2 separate regions of the Homo sapiens genome follow, and region 1 is linked to region 2. Evidence: promoter capture Hi-C in human tissues and cell types (Jung and others, 2019). All regions are on one chromosome and are shown on one strand. The core of a region is centred on a gene start or on the middle of the fragment in contact, and the rest is flanking DNA. Distances in the headings are between cores, read along the strand shown. Region 1 has its middle 9.7 kb from the start of CASC23. Region 2 holds the start of NLRP10 (NLR family pyrin domain containing 10).

Region 1 (4,388 bases), core at 934-3,433, 41 kb after region 2:
GTCTGCTGGAGGACTGCACTATATTCTGACCACCTCTGTAAGGGACAAGGGATATGTATGACCTTACAATGACTTTGGTGTGCTCTCTATTAGGGCCAGACAGGGAGGGCAAACCAGCTCACAAAAATCTCAGTCTCCTTTTTTGAACAATGATATTTTTATTGTTATGAGTAACATTTATCTTTAAGGATTGGAAAATATAGAAAAAAGAGAAAGAAAAAAATAGAAATAATTCAAATTTGCCCTCAACGATCATTATTGTTAACATGTTGTGCCAATCCCTTTTCTCTACAAACAACTTTTTTTAAAACAGTGTTTTGAATTTTCTATTTTGGCTTTTTTTAAACTAAACATTTTAGAATGATTATTATCCAGGTCATTAAATCTTCAAAAACCTTATTTTAAATAGTTTTATAGGTTCCTGTTATACGGGTAAACTATGATTTACTTAAGTGATTTTTTAGTGTTGGGCATATGGGTTCTTTCTGATTTTGTGCTAATAGATATCTTCCATGGTCGACAACTGTGTGCAGACATAAATGTCTGAGTTTCTGCTTCTTTAGGTCAATCTCTCTTCCCTGCTGTGTGTCATACTTTGTGTCCTGGGAAGCCCATGTCGTGCTGCTCAACTTCTGGGTTTGAAGGAGACCATCAGGAAAATGCACCTGTGGCTCTGCATGCCCCCTTTCCACAGGATTCAGACACTACGGACGGAGGGCATGGGAAACTGAGAAGGGACCAGAGACAATATTATTCCACTTTTTGCCCTCCAAGGCCCATACCATAAACCTCCCCAACTCCTCCATTGCCCAAGCCAGAGCCCTCATGAAAATGAACTCAATCAAATTAACTTTTGAAGAGTAAACGAGATTCTAGGGACGTGGGAACCTGATCGCACTTCCTTTTTCCCACCCACAATCTATGGCCACTCCTGAGCCTGTGGGCTGCTTGAAGGCAAGTGAGGCCTTGACCTCTGCTGGAATCCTAAGAGAGAGAATTATTTAGAGTCTCATGGGTCAGGAGAGTCCTGGGAGGCCAGTACAGAGGGTTTCTAGCAAGGACCAGAAAGCTATAAAGCTGGGAAGAATGTGGCCCACAGAGATCTTTGGACCCATGAAGGGAAGCAAGTGTGGGGGTCTTGCTGGATTCTTGCTCTGGCAAGAAGGATTGAACAGGTAAACTGAGTCTTCCCTGCCCTGACACAGGACAGTGTAATGAGACAAGGGCTTCAGCAGGGCACTGGTGTCTTACCTGGTTCTGCCCCATCCATCCCAGATAGACTATTTCCCCTCCCAGCACCCACAGAGCTGCCAACAACAGCCAGACTCAACCCCAACAAGCTTCACTCCACTCTCCTTAGAACATCGAGGAATCAGTTCTTACTGAAAGTTTACTTGGTGCAGCCTATAACTGTGACTTCAGGTTCTGAGCATATCTGATGAAGAAATTAGCATTTTCCCCACATACTAGATATAGTCAGCATTTCCAGGAGTGTTCAAAGAGAACCCAGGTTGTTTAAGATAGAAATCTAATTGCCAGCACTGACTTGCTTCTCGTTGCAGAGTCTAGGAATCCATGCATGCTCAGTAATGCAAGTACTTGCAAGCTGACAAAATTCCATTTGTTTGTCCCCCTTATTCCCCTTATCACCAGCGAAGTCTCCCAGAAGGCAAGCAGTTGCCTATGGCGATGATCTAAGCTGTGAATTAGATGTTTGTCCCACAATAGTTTGTCTGATCCATCTTGTCTGTCAGTCCTGTGAAGGTATTTTCTGTCTCATTAGGGTCTTCCAGTACTTTGCTTAAGTTTTGTCCCATGATGATGGTCATCAATTTTATAATGGTCTCTGTCCCACAATGTTGGTCCCAACTATAACAGGCCACCAGTCTCAGGAGCATTGCTCTATGCCAGAGGCTTTCTGAGTCATGGCCACTAGAGGACACCCTTACACCACTTAAAGGCCAAAGGTTGCCAGTGGCATTCCCTTAGTTCCTGAGCTGTTTTCTGAGGGCCTGCCCAGAGAAAGCACCTTCTGCTTTGGAGAGGTCAGGATGGTGCCAAAAAAGTGACCAAAGCTTTTGGAGCTGCTTCCCTTGGCCACCTTTGAGCCACAGAGTGATGAAACCAAACCATCTTCCTCTATCCCCACCCCCAAAATCACTCCAAATAAACACATAGTATTTCTAAACTTGGTTTGATAACACAGTTTCAAGTAAATCTATGGCCCACTCCCCTTCCAATCAGATTATAATCTGCAAACCCCTCTATACAGAAATTCTGGAGCTGCTGTTGCCCAGGAGAAACCCTAGCTCAGGACCTGACAACCAAAATGAGGTTCCTGGAGCTTTCCTTCCAGGGAAAGGGTGATGCTTATAAGAGAACCTGGACTTTCCACATGGTACTAGAGTTCTGGACAGGAAAGTGAGGGACTCTTGCCAAATTCTGGAGGTTAGAGAAGTGAGAGGTACAAGATAGGATCCTGTCCAATGGTCCCAGTAAAATTGCTTTGTTGATTGGAAGTGCAAGGGATAGACAGAGGTAATGGTTAGCTGACAATGGGAGCCCCAGATTTAGATATAAAAATTCAGCTGGAGGGAGGACATAGTTTGGGTCCCCTTGCAACAGAACATGTGGCAAAGACTTGGGGAAAAATAGTTTACGTGTGAGGTGATCTGCATTTGATTCCTATGGTTACCATAATAAGTACAACAGTTCACCCTTATCCATGCGGGATACATTCCAAGACCCCCAGTGGATACCTGAAGCCATGGATGGTATCGAACTCTATATATACTGTGTTTTTTCATAAACATACATACCTATGATAAAGTTTAATTTATAAATTAGGCACAGTAAGACATTAACAACAATAACTAATATAAAACAGAACAATTATAACAATATACTGTAATAAAAGTTATGTGGATGTAGTGTCTCTCTTTCTCCCCCCCCCCCAGCCTCTCAAAATAACTGTACTGTACTGCATGTAACTGAAACTGCAGAAAGCAAAACCATGGATAAAACCATGAATAAGAGGGGGCTGTTGTATCATAAATTTGGTGGCTTAAGACAACAGAAATCTATTTTTTCAGTCTTGGAGGCTAGAAGTCTGAGATCAAGGAACGGTCTTTGATACTGCCCCCAAAGCCTTTATTTTTTTTTATTTTATCTATTTATTTTTTTGAGATGGAGTTTCACTCTTGTTGCCCAGGCTGGAGTGCAATGGCACAATCTCAGCTCACCACAACCTCTGCCTCCTGGGTTCAAGCGATTCTCCTGGCTCAGCCTCCTGAGTAGCTGGGATTACAGGCATGTGTCACCATGCCTGGCTAATTTCTTGTGTTTTTAGTAGGGATGGGGTTTCTCCATGTTGGTCAGGCTGGTCTCAAACTCCCAACCTCAGGTGATCCGCCCGCCTCAGCCTCCCAAAGTGCTGGGATTATAGGCATGAGCCACCGCGCCCAGCCAGGACTTCAACATATCTTTTAAGGGGGACAAAACTAACCCATAATATGATCTTAGAAGTAAAAGCAAATGGAGACTAGGATGGGAAGAACTTAATGCAACTGAAGGTATCAAGCTGGTTATTTCTGCAGCAACAGGGACTCAGTCCCACTGAGGAACCTCCAAGGAGCCATGTGACATACCCCTCAGAATTCTCCCACTGAGGGACTGGAAGGCTGGGGAATTTAGCCTGTTACCCCACTGGCTGAAGAATTCTCCTGGGAGGCTGGCTAACTTCCTCATATTTAGAGGCTACAACTACAGTAGGGCTGCATCCTTCCCTAGCTAATTAAGAGAGATTGAGGTGCGATGTGAGCCCTGCGTGTGGGGCTGTCCACCGCCACAGTGCTGAAATCAAGGAGGCACCCCCAGTGTTAGAGAGGGTACCCCCCTTACACTGCTCAGATCTGCTCCTCCCCCACAGCAAGTCCACACTATCACTGACTCTTTTAGAGTGTGGACTCTTTACGAGTATGCAAGCTCTTAAAAAAAGAAAAGGGACTTTCAGGAGTAGAATTAGTGGAATAAACTATAGTCGCCTGTGGCAGCTGGTCCTCAGCCACAATTAATATTCATCATCTCCCCGCTCCCCCTCCAACCCACCAATTCCAGATTTCTTTCATGCCTGGTCAACACTAAAGTTGGTCTGGGCTGCTCTTCCTGAGGGCCTGGGCCCTTGACTGTCTTGCCACTACCCTACTTTGTTGGCTGTGGTTGGCTATGCACCATTATCCCTCAGCATGAAGGCACCAAAAGACACTCCAGCGACCAAGTTTCAGATGAATCCTCCCTGCCTCATTATGCAACAGCCACTTTAGCTTCTCAGAATGGGGGTTGATTGCCAGCTCCAATATGGTAACTTTTCTTATCTGATGGTCCACTCG
Region 2 (4,338 bases), core at 1-2,500:
CAGGCATGAGCTACTGTGCCCGGCCAAGTTTTAAGTTTTAAAAGTGAGACTGTCCCTGGCTGTGTGAACCTATAGAAAGCTGGAGCACATTTGCTGGAACTGCTGTGGTATGGCAAGAAGGTAAAAAAAATCTACACTCAACCCATTGGCCTCACATGTCAGCCTCCTGGCCTCAGTCACACAGGGATTGCAAAGCTAGAAGTCTCCTAATTCAAATAAGGAAACAAATCCAGATAATGATAGGAAGAGGAACCGCCACCTGTGAGTGCTGACTTTGTGCCAGGTGATTTACATATCCTTTTTGATCATCTCAGAAATCGTCTCAGGAACTGTTCCACATGAGAAATTTGGCAGTCAGAGAAAAATGGTTTTTCAGAGTTTTCCAGAGCTAGGCCACCGGGCAAAGAGGCAGGATTTAAACTGGTCTATGCCCTGGGTGGAAGAGAGAGACAGAAAAAACTCAAAAGATAAAGAAATAGAAGACAGAGTCAGGAACCAGAAAGTTAGGCTAAATGTTGCCAGAAGCTGGAGACATGTATAAATACTAAAGTAACGGGAAAGGAGAGCAGAGTTTTGAATTGTGTTTCTAATGTAGAACCAAAATGTAGGCCAGGTGGCAGTCTTTGGAAAAGAAAAGCAACAATTAATAGAAAGCCTTCAGAATCCAGAAATACACCTGTGACCTAAGGCCCATAGGGAACCCATCTCAGTAGTACAATGTCACATTCATCATTGAGAGTGTTCAAAAGAGAATTTGGGAACACAGAGAGTTGTTGCCATTCAAATACCAACATTTTGACTACATACTGACAGAGAAAGAAAATGTTTGGAACATGTTAGGATACAGGGGACTTTGGTTGTGAGTCATAGGCCAGTTTGGAAAAGCAGGCCTGTGAAAGCAGGATCAATTTACAACAAAGCTTCAGGCTGCATGGGAAGACTCAGGGCTTCCCTGCAAATTTCTGATGTTGGCAGAGCTATTTAATAATTCAGGAAAGAAAAGACAACACTAGAACCTGCCAAGAAGATGTCCAGTCTAGGCTGCTTACCACAGTTCAGACTTGGGGAGCTGGAGGTGAGGCAGCGAGAACTCAGCTCCCTGATCCAGGAGCCCAGTAAGCAAAGCCTGGGGACTGAGACGAAACAGATCCCCTTTCCTGGTCCGACAGCTCTACAGGTCCAAGTTTGGGCTCTCTTAGCCCATACTCACTAGTTCACTTCTGTTTGGTGGTGCTGGTACCTACCAGCTACAGCTTGATACCTAACAGTTCCTAGTATATAGGCCTGGAACAGAAGGGCCCCTCCCCATCTGCCCCAAGCCTCTGTGAAGCAGAACCACCCACTGAATGTCAGTGGGATGACTGTCAATGGGATGGGCAATTGCTCACCAGTGGGAAACTTGACCTCATTTTTTCAAATGTTGAAGTTGAGAAACAAGGGAGGGGTGGAAGGCATGAACTATTCTGTCACCAAGAGAAAAAGAGCCCAGGAGACTTCCCACATCCCTCCCTGGAACCCACACTCCTCCTCTACCACTTAACCCCAGCCTAGGCTGGGGCAGTTTGACTAGAGAGACGAAAGAATTGAAGCACTGCCACCACCATATCCTCCGCCAGTGCACCATTTCTCTAAGTTGTTGAAATCACTGGAGAATGAAAAAGGAAGAAGATAGGAGCTCCATGAAGTAGGAATTCAAACAAGGAGAAAAACAGGCCAGGCATGGTGGTTCACGCCTGTAATCCCAGCACTTTGGGAGGCTGAGGTGCGTGGATCATTTGATGTCAGGAGTTTGAGACCAGCCTGATCAACATGGTGAAACCCTGTCTCTACTAAAAATACGCAAATTAGCCGGGAATCATGGTGCATGCCTGTAATCTCAGCTACTAGGGAGGCTGAGGCAGGAAAATTGCTTGAACCCAGGAGGCGGAGGTTGCAGCGAGCTGAGATTGTGCCACTGCACTCCAACCTGGGCAACAAAGTAAGACTTTGTCTCAAAAAAACAAAAAAGAAAAAGGAGAAAAACAAATTCCCAGAAGGCAGCCAGTCCTCTGGCCTAGAGAGCTGAGGATCCCCAAGAGCCCTGACAGAAAGAGAACAGGTTTCTCCAAAAAGAATGTCTCCAAGAAAAAAGAAAAAAGACTTGCTAGACTAGCTGATGCTATTGGCCTTCTAAAACAGCCTATTGGGAGGCTATTAGAAGGTGGAAAAAGCTAGCAGTAACTTCCAAGAAAACCAGATAAATGAAAGTAAAATAAAGAAATTACTAGCAAGAGGAGAAACAAAAAATAAAATTGGAAATATAATAGTAAACTAATATACTCAAGTGTGAATAATGTTTGCATAGAAATCATAGTGTAACCACTGAACATTGCTCTAAAATTTAAAATATAATTACATTGAAAGGATGGTGGTGGAATGTACTAGAAGAGGAAGTTGATAGACAATGCCTAAAATGTTGAATCAAAAGATAGTGATATACAGTACACATATTACTTCAAAATGCAGAGATGTAAGAAGAAATAGTTAAAATCTAATGTATTAATAGTTGTTTTAGCGAAAAGAGACTGGGCATCAGGAGAGGAAAGGACTACTGTTCCAGGGCATAAGTTTTTTAATGCCTATTGACTTTAGAAATCATAACCATGTATTACTTTGAAAAGATAAAAATTAACTTAGCAAAGAAACAGTAAGAGGTAAAGAAATGGAGTTAACATGTATAGACAAATCTCTCTGGAAGCTTGGTAACAAAAGTGATGAGAAAGGTCCTGAGGTAATATGGGAGATGTGAAGTCCAGAGAAGGTTTTGTTTGCTTTAACATGGGAAAGGGAGGAATGTACCTGGATGCTGATACAAAGCCTCCCATAGAGAGGTCAGGTTAGAAATGCAGAAGAGAAAGGCAAGCACCAGAGGGGGGAATGGAGAATGGGGATTGGGACAGGATTCGAAGCAAAGGCAAAAGATTGGCCTTTGACAGGAGGCTGGAAGGAACAGCATCCATTCATTCCTGAGGAAAGTGACAGAGGTTGTTTGGCAGAGAAAGTCAGGTGTGTGGGTTTTGTGGTCAGAAGATAAGCATGGTCATGTCTGAGTCTCCATATGCTCTGTGAAGTACATGTAAGAGTATCTCCCATGAGTGAGAGGGCAGGGGTGGTTGAGGAGAGGAGACACCTTAAGGAGGCCACTGCAAGCCTTCCCTCCTGTGCACCTCTCCTCCTCCTCCAAGGCCTCTTGTGCCCACTGCTCAGGGAGTACCCCAGAGTCCAGGGGAACAGGCAGGAATGGGACTGGCCTTTCCCAGTGCCTTGACCAAGATGAGGCTAGCGACAAAAACAAGACTGCCAAGAACCAGGACCCAGAGACCAAGATGGGAAGATAAAAGAGTGAGACACAGTTATGTAGTGAGGGTGACAGAGAGAGCAGAAAGGCCACCTACTGCAAAGGCACCAGGTCTGGAGACCACTGTGCCAGATTCAGAATCACACCTGAAGAAAGGAGGAATGAGATGCATGGAACCAACTATAATTGGAGGGTGGAGGCAAGAGATGAAATGAGTCCTCCCTGCCTATCCACCCTGGCCTGGCTACAGGCAACACTGATAATTGCAACTAAGTCCCAAAAAGGGCAGGGGTGGAGACAAAAGAAAGAGAAACCAAGCCTGGGAATAGCAAGAGATCAAAAGAGTAAAGAGTCAGAGAAGAGATACAGAGAGATATCAGAAAAATGAGCAAACAAAATAGAAAGTCAGAGAGAGATGAAGCCAGCTGGTAGGTATGAGTCTCTCACTTTCCCATACACACATACACACATACTTACACACTCACTCTATACACAGTGTTTTTTCACAGCAAACTGTTAGAAACAAGGGCAATGAGAAAAACATGTGAAGCAATTGGAGTTTCTCAATCAAGCTGCAGTGTTCCCACATTCATTATACTCTTTCCCTACCTATGGAGGCAGATCCCAAGGCAAAGTTGAACACATGTCTTCATCCTCTTGCTTCCAGGCCTTCTTTTTGACACAGGCAGGAGCTCCAACCCCAGTCTGTCCCCTCTTATACAAGGGCCCTTTGAGACAGTCCCCTCAGGCTCCCCAAAGGTCACCATCTTCTCCTTTATACCTTGGTCAGTTTTGATGGAGTTAGCACATGGATTTGGTAAGCTTAAAGGTCTTCTTGAGACAGGAGATCCTGTGGCCATTTTGGAGGTATCTGTCTCTGCTGCTAGAAGCTGTCTTTTCTCAAGAGTATTGTCACAAGGCTTTTGTAAACCAAAAAGTATCTGAGACAGGTCTCAATCAATTTAGAAAGTTTATTTTGCCAAGGTTAAGATGTGCCTATG

Evidence for each region. Contacts are between HindIII fragments. The study calls those that stand out against the background at their distance.
Region 1: a contact is called between a fragment that was not itself captured here and the fragment with the promoter of NLRP10 in region 2, in 1 of the 25 tissues and cell types used here (pancreas).

The regions. Positions count from the first base shown.
Region 1 is chr11:8,004,631-8,009,018 of GRCh38, forward strand. No RefSeq gene overlaps it. Among named protein-coding and RNA genes, the nearest start is that of CASC23, 9.7 kb to the right of the region's middle. The HindIII fragment of the contact is 4,444 bases long and covers 1-4,388 here.
Region 2 is chr11:7,964,197-7,968,534 of GRCh38, forward strand. It overlaps NLRP10 (NLR family pyrin domain containing 10), which reads right to left and starts at 1,251. Exons shown (of 3, transcript NM_001391958.1): 1 at 1,050-1,251. The HindIII fragment of the contact is 5,237 bases long and covers 1-3,448 here.